3 separate regions of the Homo sapiens genome follow, and regions 1 and 3 are each linked to region 2. Evidence: promoter capture Hi-C in 16 types of primary human blood cells and fetal thymus (Javierre and others, 2016). All regions are on one chromosome and are shown on one strand. The core of a region is centred on a gene start or on the middle of the fragment in contact, and the rest is flanking DNA. Distances in the headings are between cores, read along the strand shown. Region 1 overlaps DIAPH1 (diaphanous related formin 1). Region 2 holds the start of PCDHGB6 (protocadherin gamma subfamily B, 6). Region 3 has its middle 4.5 kb from the start of PCDHB15.

Evidence for each region. Contacts are between HindIII fragments. The CHiCAGO score rates a contact against its expected background, and 5 or more counts as called.
Region 1: a fragment that was not itself captured here is called in contact with the fragment with the promoter of PCDHGB6 in region 2 in 1 of 17 cell types (M2 macrophages); the score reaches 5.4 in M2 macrophages.
Region 3: a fragment that was not itself captured here is called in contact with the fragment with the promoter of PCDHGB6 in region 2 in 4 of 17 cell types (endothelial precursors, erythroblasts, total B cells and 1 more); the score reaches 8.6 in endothelial precursors.

The regions. Positions count from the first base shown.
Region 1 is chr5:141,582,964-141,586,475 of GRCh38, forward strand. It overlaps DIAPH1 (diaphanous related formin 1), which reads right to left. Exons shown (of 28, transcript NM_005219.5): 4 at 1,161-1,262; 5 at 522-652; 6 at 243-329. Among named protein-coding and RNA genes, the nearest start is that of DIAPH1-AS1, 26 kb to the left of the region's middle. The HindIII fragment of the contact is 4,023 bases long and covers 1-3,386 here.
Region 2 is chr5:141,406,417-141,409,666 of GRCh38, forward strand. PCDHGB6 (protocadherin gamma subfamily B, 6) reads left to right here and starts at 1,605. Exons shown (of 4, transcript NM_018926.3): 1 at 1,605-3,250. The coding sequence starts at 1,787. The region is part of intron 1 of PCDHGA1 (protocadherin gamma subfamily A, 1); the gene reads left to right. The region is part of intron 1 of PCDHGA2 (protocadherin gamma subfamily A, 2); the gene reads left to right. The region is part of intron 1 of PCDHGA3 (protocadherin gamma subfamily A, 3); the gene reads left to right. It also overlaps PCDHGB1, PCDHGA4, PCDHGB2, PCDHGA5, PCDHGB3 and PCDHGA6, and 6 more genes. RefSeq lists an enhancer at 2,014-2,063. The HindIII fragment of the contact is 5,535 bases long and covers 583-3,250 here.
Region 3 is chr5:141,239,202-141,242,568 of GRCh38, forward strand. It overlaps PCDHB@ and the pseudogene PCDHB19P. Among named protein-coding and RNA genes, the nearest start is that of PCDHB15, 4.5 kb to the right of the region's middle. The HindIII fragment of the contact is 3,709 bases long and covers 1-3,367 here.

The DNA of each region.
Region 1 (3,512 bases), core at 125-2,624, 180 kb after region 2:
GACTAATATTCTGTGGTATGTATTGAACTTATCCAACATGAAATTTAAGTTCCTCCTCCCTTTCCTGTATCTATAATCATCATTCATCCTCTAGCCACCACTATGATAAACCCCTTCTTGGCTAACAGTACATTCCCCTAGCCCACAACTTTACATTTAACTGCTACTTTCTCCTTCAGAGCAAATAGCCAAGTCCCCTGTGACTCTCCAACTTGAAGTTGCAAAGACTTGGAAGTCCTCACCCAGCAGTCTCTTCTTTCTCATCATGAAGTCGTTTAAGAATGTCCAATAAGGAGGCCAAGCCTTCAGCACCAAATGTTTGCACCCAACTGTAAGGAACAGAGAGAGGCAATGCAATATCAAACCAATAAATACTTATTTGCCAAACAAAGTTTATCCTGACAACTTACTACTCCCAATTCAGACTATTCTCATGCTTCCCTGGCTCCTTTGATCTTCAATCACCACCAGTGAAGTCCAACATTTGGCTCCTACTCCTGTTACCTCCTCAGAATCCTCACCTGACAGGGTTGTTGTTGAGAGACACACGAAGGGACTCCAGGCAGCTGAGCAGAGGCATATCCCGCAAGCCTGACCTCAACTCCTGAATATACATCATGGCAGACTTAGAGCTCTCCTTCTGGCTCATGCCCTAGACAGAAGGCATAGACAGAGATTAGTAATGGTGGACCCAGTCATAAATTAAGGACTAGTATTAGTCAATAGAGTTTATACTTTATTTTTATTTTTTATTTTTAGCAGAGACAAGGTCTTACTACGTTGCCCAGGCTGATTTCAAACTCCTGGGCTCAAGTGATCCTTCTGCCTCAGCCTCCCAAAGTGCTCAGATTACAGGAGTAAGCCACCATGTCAGGCCACGTTTATCAGGGCAGATACCCATCTCACATACCACCAACATAAATGAGACTTAGAACTGCCTATCCCATTCCCTATATTTACATACTTCATGAAAATTTAACCAGGCAAAATGTATGTAAGAACGGTAACTAAATAAGACAGTAAAAAGTGAACAGGCTTATATAATGGAATGAAACAGAATTGATGCAGACATAAAATGTTACATAAAATTGGCAAAAAAAAAACAGGTCCAAGACAAGGGCACAGTCTCCCATGTCATGGGTACCTGTCCCAGGACTCACAGCCTTGGAGGTGTACAAGTATTGGGACACCATCTCCCTCTTGATGATGATGTCCTTCTCCCTCAAAGGTTGCTGTTTCTCCTCATTCAGGTTCATATCCAGCTAGGAGAGGGAGAAAAAAGAGAAAAAACAAAATTGCCTCAAATTCTTTACAAATTTTTAGTGTTTAATATTAGTATGCTTAGTGAAGAGTTGAGCATGTAAAATGCTTAAGTAAATAAATCTTTTTGATCCCTAGAAATTTAAGCTATTACAGCTGATGAAAATTCCTCAAAGATAAGTATAGTTAACATTTTAGTATAAATCTCTATAGACATATACACACTTTTTTTCTCTAAGAAAAATGGACTCAATATAAATGAAAGATTTATTTTGTATTATTGAAAGAAAACCACACACAATGCTTTCTGCATCAAGGATGGACCTTAAAAATCTCTTCAGACTGAAGCACTGGATGAATGGCATAATCTAAACACAAGCAAAATCAACAGCAACAAACTCTGCACCAACTCTAGGGCCTACAAACCCATTACCCCTGGTTAACTCAGTCCCTGTACAAACTCCTTTCCCACGAAGAAAGAACTGGAAACTCTATGATAAAGCAGAGGCCCCCTGACAGACATAATCTGATGTATGTTTGGGGAAAGGCTCTGCTTGATCTTTCTACATATATAACAACCATGTGTCCAAGCCTAGTACCTTGGTGTGCACAAATTTAGCCCTAATAATTCCAGAATGTTATTTGAATTGAGAAAAATATGGATGGGGGGATGTATTCTGTTTCTTCTGCAAGCAGCAAAATTAATCTGAAGTTTCTGTGACTTAATTCCTGGTGGGTTTTTTTTTTTTGAGACGGAGTCTCACTCTGTCACCCAGGCTGGAGTGCAATGGCACAATCTTGGCTCACTGCAACCTCCACCTCCCAGATTCAAGTGATTCTCCTGCCTCAGCCTCCTGGCAGTAGCTGGGATTACAGGCGCCCGCCACCACACTCAGCTAATTTTTGTATTTTTAGTAGAGACGGGGTTTCACCATCTTGGCCAGGCTGGTCTTGAACTGCTGACCTCGTGATCCACCCACCTCGGCCTCCCAAAGTGCTGGGATTACAGGTGTGAGCCACCACTGCCAGCCAGATGCATTTTTCCTCTTGCAGATAAACTGAACACAGAAGTTACAAAATGGTGGCCCTCAAGCTAAGTCAAACCCAAAGATAAAATGTTTCACTTGGCTAGCTCAACATTTTAAATCTGGGGGACCTTACATAAAGATACAGATCTCTAGTAAAACAGCACCAAAGGATTCATCCATCGAATTTCATGTTGTGGGAAACTCTACAGGTCAAACAAACGGTTTTTTCAACAATTTTTTTTTAGTATCAATAGTAAGGATAAAAGAAAAAGAGGTGCAGTGGCTCATGCCCGTAATCCCAGCACTTTGGGAGGCTGAGGTGGGTGGATCACAAGGTCAGGGGTTCGAGACTAGCCTGGCCAACATGATGAAACCCTATCTCTACTCAAGCTACAAAAATTAGCCGGGCATGGTGGTGTCCACCTGTAATCCCAGCTACTCAGGAGGCTGAGGCAGGAGAACTGCTCGAACCCAGAAGACGGAGGTTGCAAGTCTTGCTCTGCTTGCGACAGAGCAATACTCCATCTCAAAAAAAAGAGGAAGGGAAACCTATAGTTTAAATGAAAATTGAGAATACCAGTACAGTGGACTATATTTGGAATTGTGATTTGAACAAACTGGTTTTTAAAAAAATGACCTAATTGGGGAAATTCAAATAGTGACTAGGATATTTTATGTTATTCAAGATTTATTATTTTTTTAAAATTACGGATTGCTGACTTCTTTTGAAAAATAGAAATATCTGGCACTACTAGGCAAGTATTCCCAACTGGAATGCAACCACCTACTAGAACTGAGTTGTGGCTGGCTTTTCTAACAAAAATGCCAAAAGCCTCTCTTCAATTTGCCACATTCCCCACTTCTTTTGCCATCTTCTATCTAGCCTGCTTACCTTATTTATACTACCTGCCTGGCCCAAGAGACATTTAAACTTGCAATCCAAGGCCAAGAGATTATCTTGACAGACCATACTCTTAAGACTCTTAATGCACTTGGAATATTAAGAGACAAACTGAAAGATTCAGTGAAAAATAACAACAGTAGTACCAGTTGAGTGCTTACTATGTACCAGGCCCTGTGCTAAGGATTTTAAACCTAAGCTTTTAATTAAGCTAGGCCTGCCACTAGTCTCTATTTGAATCTGAGATCACATATCTATGCAATATACAGGTCTTAGGAAATCTTGTACTCATCAAAACTTTCCAAGACTTACCACTAATGGAC
Region 2 (3,250 bases), core at 355-2,854:
CCAGATTTATTGCTTCTATTCTTCCATTTCTATGACAGGAAAACACCTCTTTGAGGTTATATTTTTCAGATCACAAGTGTGTAAAGTCTGTTTGTGTTTACAGATATTTTCTGACGAAGATTCAAACTTCAGTTATCCACTTCCAAACCCTAGTAAACCAATTTTTTCCCTTTAATGGTGAAAGTTGTCACATCTTTTATTCTCATATCTTCAAAGGTCTTAATTTCCTAATGCTTTAATGTTAAATTATGGAGAATAGTAGGACATTCTTCTTTTCTATAGTATATGCTTGCTCAAGAGAAGTTTCTAAGACTGGACACTGTGAAATGACAAAACAAGGAATTAAAAATATTTCTCTCACTTATATATTATTTCTGGCTCAATTCTCCAACTTTTGAGTCTAGAAATGAACTTGCATATCAGATATAATTTAAGAAAATATTCTCAGGAACTGCTGGGAAGATTCTAAAACTATTTTACTGTTTTTAGCTATAAGGAAGAGAATAATGTATTATTTAATGTTATTTTAAACATAGTGTTGTTTCAAATAGTAAATAACATTTCACAAGACATTTGAAAATAAGCTTTGAAGTTGACTCAAAATTCTATGCTAAACATGTGATCCATAGATACACTGATGACTGCTGGCATTTCTGTGGAAATGAAGAATTGTTTTATTTGTTTGTAATTATTTGGGTTTCAGTTGCTTTATTTTTAAGAAAAAAAAGCTGAAGTGTCTGGGAATCCTTTATGACATACAGACATTTTAATTATTTCAAACACGTTTTCCCCCTTAAGTGGGTAGCAAAAAAAATAAAGCATACTTCAGGCTCATATTTTTAACCATGCAACAAGAAAATTGTTACAATTTCTGTTCTGAGGAGTAGCCTTCATACTTAGTATTTATAAATATTGAAATGTATGTTAATTTGGGGAAAACATAACAGATATCCATGAAGGCTTGTATGTCATGGTAGGTAGTTACTATTCGATACCACAAAAATGTCTCTTGCCCTTAAAACCAGAACACGAGGCTCACCAGACAGATGACTGAATGGAGTATGGAAAATCTTTATTTCTGTTTTTCTTAGGCTATGTAGGACTTAACTTATTGTGCATTGGTAACAGATTGTAGAACATAAGCTGAAAGATAAAATTCTTGACCTTAATGTCTCATCTTAAAAAGAAGCATTGGTTGACATTCTATATCTCGTATTACTTAAAAATAATGGGGGAGCGCAGTATATATTAAACAAAGATTGGCTTTGTGGTGATCATTGTTGAAGGTGGGGTGATGGCTATGTGAAGGTTCACTATATATACTCCCTACTGTTGTATAAGTTTGAAATTGTGCATAATAGATTTATTTAAAACACAAAGCATAGAAATATCTACTATAATATTATGGTGAGAGCAAAATTTGAGGGGGATGTACACCTGCATTTTCGAAGAATATATACATTTCGGAGACCGAATTCAAAATGAAAAACCGGGCTGCTGTCCCGCACGGAGCCTCTGGGCGCCGCTGTCGGCCAGTGCAGAGCAAGCGCTGACGCCGGGGATCCGTCAGCCTCTGGCCTGGGATTCCCTGCGCAGCCAACAACAGAAAGAAGAAAACCAGCTCCCACACAGAGCCTCCCGGCTGCGCAGACCTTTCCCAGCACAGCGGATTGCCAGCTCCGAGACCCGGGACTCCTCCTGTCCTGGGCCGAATGCTCTTTTAGCGCGGTAGAGTGCACTTTCTCCAACTGGAAAAGCGGGGACCCAGCGAGAACCCGAGCGAACGATGGGAGGGAGCTGCGCGCAGAGGCGCCGGGCCGGCCCGCGGCAGGTGCTATTTCCTTTGCTGCTGCCTTTGTTCTACCCCACCCTGAGTGAGCCGATCCGCTACTCGATTCCGGAGGAGCTGGCCAAGGGCTCGGTGGTGGGGAACCTCGCTAAGGATCTAGGGCTCAGTGTCCTGGATGTGTCGGCTCGCAAGCTGCGAGTGAGCGCGGAGAAGCTGCACTTCAGCGTAGACGCGGAGAGCGGGGACTTACTTGTGAAGAACCGAATAGACCGTGAGCAAATATGCAAAGAGAGAAGAAGATGTGAGTTGCAATTGGAAGCTGTGGTGGAAAATCCTTTAAATATTTTTCATGTCATTGTGGTGATTGAGGATGTTAATGACCACGCCCCTCAATTTGATAAAAAGGAAATACATTTAGAAATTTTCGAATCTGCATCCGCTGGTACACGACTATCGCTTGACCCTGCCACGGATCCTGATATAAACATAAACTCAATTAAAGATTATAAGATAAACTCTAATCCTTATTTTTCATTAATGGTTAGAGTTAATTCCGATGGTGGCAAATACCCAGAGTTATCTCTGGAGAAACTCCTAGACCGGGAAGAACAGAGATCTCATAGCTTGATATTGACTGCCTTGGACGGAGGGGACCCACCAAGAAGTGCCACCGCTCACATAGAAATTTCTGTCAAGGATACCAATGATAACCCCCCGGTTTTCAGCAGAGACGAATATAGAATTAGTCTTAGTGAAAATCTGCCCCCTGGGTCCCCTGTGTTGCAAGTGACAGCCACTGACCAGGATGAGGGGGTCAATGCTGAGATAAACTACTACTTCCGAAGCACTGCCCAGAGCACAAAACATATGTTCTCATTGGATGAGAAAACAGGTATGATTAAGAATAACCAGTCATTTGATTTTGAAGATGTAGAAAGGTACACCATGGAAGTGGAAGCGAAGGACGGAGGTGGTCTCTCTACCCAGTGTAAAGTAATCATAGAAATCCTTGATGAAAACGACAACAGCCCAGAAATAATCATCACTTCTCTCTCTGATCAGATTTTGGAGAATTCACCTCCAGGAATGGTTGTTGCCCTCTTCAAAACACGGGATCTGGATTTCGGAGGAAATGGAGAAGTCAGGTGTAATATAGAAACAGACATTCCATTCAAGATTTATTCTTCTTCCAATAACTACTACAAACTGGTGACAGATGGAGCCCTGGACCGAGAGCAGACACCAGAATACAATGTCACCATCGTAGCCACTGACAGGGGCAAGCCGCCTCTTTCTTCCAGTAGAAGCATCACCTTGTATGTCGCTGACATCAACGACAACGCCCCAGTTTTCGACCAGACGTCCTACGTGGTCCACGTGGCCGAGAACAACCCGCCAGGAGCCTCCATTGCGCAAGTGAGCGCCTCTGACCCGGATTTGGGGCTCAATGGCCACATCTCC
Region 3 (3,367 bases), core at 296-2,795, 170 kb before region 2:
CACAACACATAATAGTGTCTATTATTTAAACATTGTGAGTAAAACATTGGCTAAAGTTGGCACAGTTGGGAAGACCCCCAAGTCTCCTCCCCCAAAATGTTTTCTCTTTCCTCAGAAGTAAAAATTTCAGTTCCATGCTAGGGTTTCAGTATTCCAATGAATCCACAAGAGATACATAATTGCTTACTAAAAATGAGTTGAGATCTTCTCCAGTTGGGAATATGCTTAACCTGCTATTTCAGGTGAACTTAACATATTTTCTTCTGCATTTTACTTTTTACTTTAACTTCAGCCTTTATATCCATGATCTTGGCTGGCTCCCTCTTCAAGGTCTCAGTGACTCTCAGCTTCAACATGTGTGTATCTCAGTATTAACAATAGATGGTGATGCTCTTTATAAATTATTTTAGATACTGTAACAAGTCAACATAACAAGCTCACAGTCCTTAGGCAATATTCACAAATAAGTTATCCACAACTCTTAGGCTACCTATTGAGTTTGCATAATAAACCAGATTTAGCTAGTATATCACTTAAGTTTACACTCCTGAAATGTTAGAATGAATCTCTTCAACTACTGTGCTAGCACTCATTCGATCCATCAAAGAGAAGAGGCTTTCTTAACCGAAAATTGCGTTGCTGCAAGGATTGATTCCCAGAGCAGATTGCCTACCAACGCAACATAGGCATCCGGACCCTGAATGCTGTTGGTGTTGGAGAAATGGAGGCTGAAAAGGAGCACTTTCCTAGAATAAGGCAAGTGCTGCTTCTCTTTGTTATGCTGTCTCAGACTTGTGCGGAGTGGAATATACTGTGCGGAGTGGAATATACTGTAGCAGAAGAAACAGAAAGTGGTTCTTTTGTGGCCAATCTAACAAAGGACCCAGGGCTAGAAGTAAGAGTAATATACCAGTGGAGGCCTCGGGTCATTTTTAACAATAACAAAAAATATTTTCAGCTGAAACTTCAGACCGGAGACCTGCAAGTAAATGAGACATTGGACCGGGAAGAATTGTGTAGAATCACTGAGCCTTGTGTGCTGCAATTCCAAGTGTTACTGGAAGAACCTTTGGAGGTTTAAACTTTTGGTCAGTGACATAAACACAATTCCCCTGTATTCCCAGAAGCAGAAATTATTTTGAAATCATGGAAAATACTCCTCCAGGAACTGTGTTTCCTCTGAAAAATACACAAGATTTGGATGTGGCCATCAATAACATCCAAAACTACACCATCTACCCCTACTCCCATGTCCACGCTCTCACCCAAAATGGCAGTGAAGGCAGAAAATACCCAGAGCTGGTTCTGGACAAAGCCCTGGATCGGGAGGAGCAGGCTGAGATCAGGTTAACTCTCATGGCAGTAGATGGCGGGACTCCTCCCAGAACTGGGACTGCTCTGGTCCTCATTGAAATCTTGGACATCAATGACAATGCACCTGAGTTTGTGTAGCCACTCTATCAGGTGCAGATATCAGAAAACAGCCCCCTGGATTCCCTTGTTGCCACTGTTTCCGCTAGAGATTCAGACATGGGAATTAATGGTGAGATATTCTACTCATTTTTTATGGTGATGAAGAGATTTCTAAGACATTTGCACTTAATGAACGAAGGGGAGAAATTAAAATAATCAGAAAACTAGATTTTGAAAAAATTGTGTCATATCAGGTGGATATTAAAGCCTCTGATGGGGCAGGTCTTTCTGGAAAATGCACTGTCATAATACAGGTGGTAGATATCAACGATAACGCTCCGGAACTGACCATGGCTTCATTCACAAGCCCCATCCGCGAAAATTCTCCTGAGACCGTTGCAGCTCTTTTCAGCATTCAAGACCGCGATTCTGGGAAAAATGGAAGAATAGTTTGATCAATTCAAAATGATGTTCCGTTCATGCCGAAACCTTCCGTTGAGAATTTATACTGGCTGTTAACAGAAGGACCACTGGACAAAGAGATTAGAGCCGAGTACAACATCACCAACACAGCCACGGACTTGGGGACTCCTAGGCTGAAAACCGAGTACAACATAACGGTGCTGGTCTCCTACGTCAATGACAAAGCCCCCACCTTCACCTAAACCTCCTACACCCTGTTCGTCCGCGAGAACAACAGCCCCGCCCTGCATATTGGCAGCGTCAGCACCGCAGAGACTCGGGCACCAACATCCAGGTCACCTACTCGCTGCTGCCGCCCCGGAACCCGCACCTGCCCCTCGCCTCCCTGGTCTCCATCAACACAGACAACGGCCACCTGTTCGCCCTCAGGTCGCTGGACTACGAGGCCCTGCAGGAGTTCGAGTTCCGCGTGGGCGCTTCAGACCGCGGCTCCACGGCGCTGAGCAGCGAGGCGCTGGTGCGCGTGCTGGTGCTGGACGCCAACGACAGCTCACTCTTCGTGCTGTTCCCGCTGCAGAACGGCTCCGCGCCCTGCACCGAGCTGATGCCCCGGGCGGGCCGCCGAGCCGGGCTACCTGGTGACCAAGGTGGTGGCGGTGGACGGTGACTCGGGCCAGAACGCCTGGCTGTCGTAGCAGTTGCTCAAGGCCACGGAGCCAGGGCTGTTCGGCGTGTGGGCGCACAATGCACTGACAGGCTGCTGAGCGAGCGTGACACAGCCAAGCACAGGCTGATGGTCCTGGTCAAGGACAATGGCGAGCCTCCGCGCTCGGCCACCGCCACGCTGCACGTGCTCCTGGTGGATGGCTTCTCCCTGCCCTACTTGCCGTTCCCTGAAGCGGCCCCGGCCCAGGCCCAGGCCGACTTGCTCACCGTCTACCTGGTGGTGGCGTTGGCCTTGGTGTCGTCGTTCTTCCTCTTCTCGGTGCTCCTGTTCGTGGCGGTGCGGCTGTGCAGGAGGAGCAGGGAGGCCTCATTGGGTCGCTGCTCGGTGCCCGAGGACCCCTTTCCAGGCATCTGGTGGACGTGAGCGACACCAGGACCCTATCCCAGAGGTACAAGTATGAAGTGTTTCTGACGCGAGGCTCCGGGACAAATGAATTCAAATTCCTGAAGTCTGTTATCCCTAAGCATCCGGGCGCTGTGAATGATGGGAGGAAAAGTCCAACTTTGTAAATGGTTTTGGATTCAATTAAGAATCTGTAGATTTTTCAGAGCATTTAGGATAAAGGTTAGTCCTTTATCAATATATTAAGTCTCTGTTATGTTTTTTGTGCTATATGGATTTTCTAAGATTTTTGCTGATTTCATTTTCCTACTTAAGATTAGACATTTTCTTTGATTATTTGTTCATACTTGGTCTCCTTTTATCATGTCCATTTTGATGAATACAACTTTCAGGTTTACTCATTAATGAAAAGTAATATTTGTTCAATTTATCAACTTTTCAAAATCACAGGCTGTTGACTTG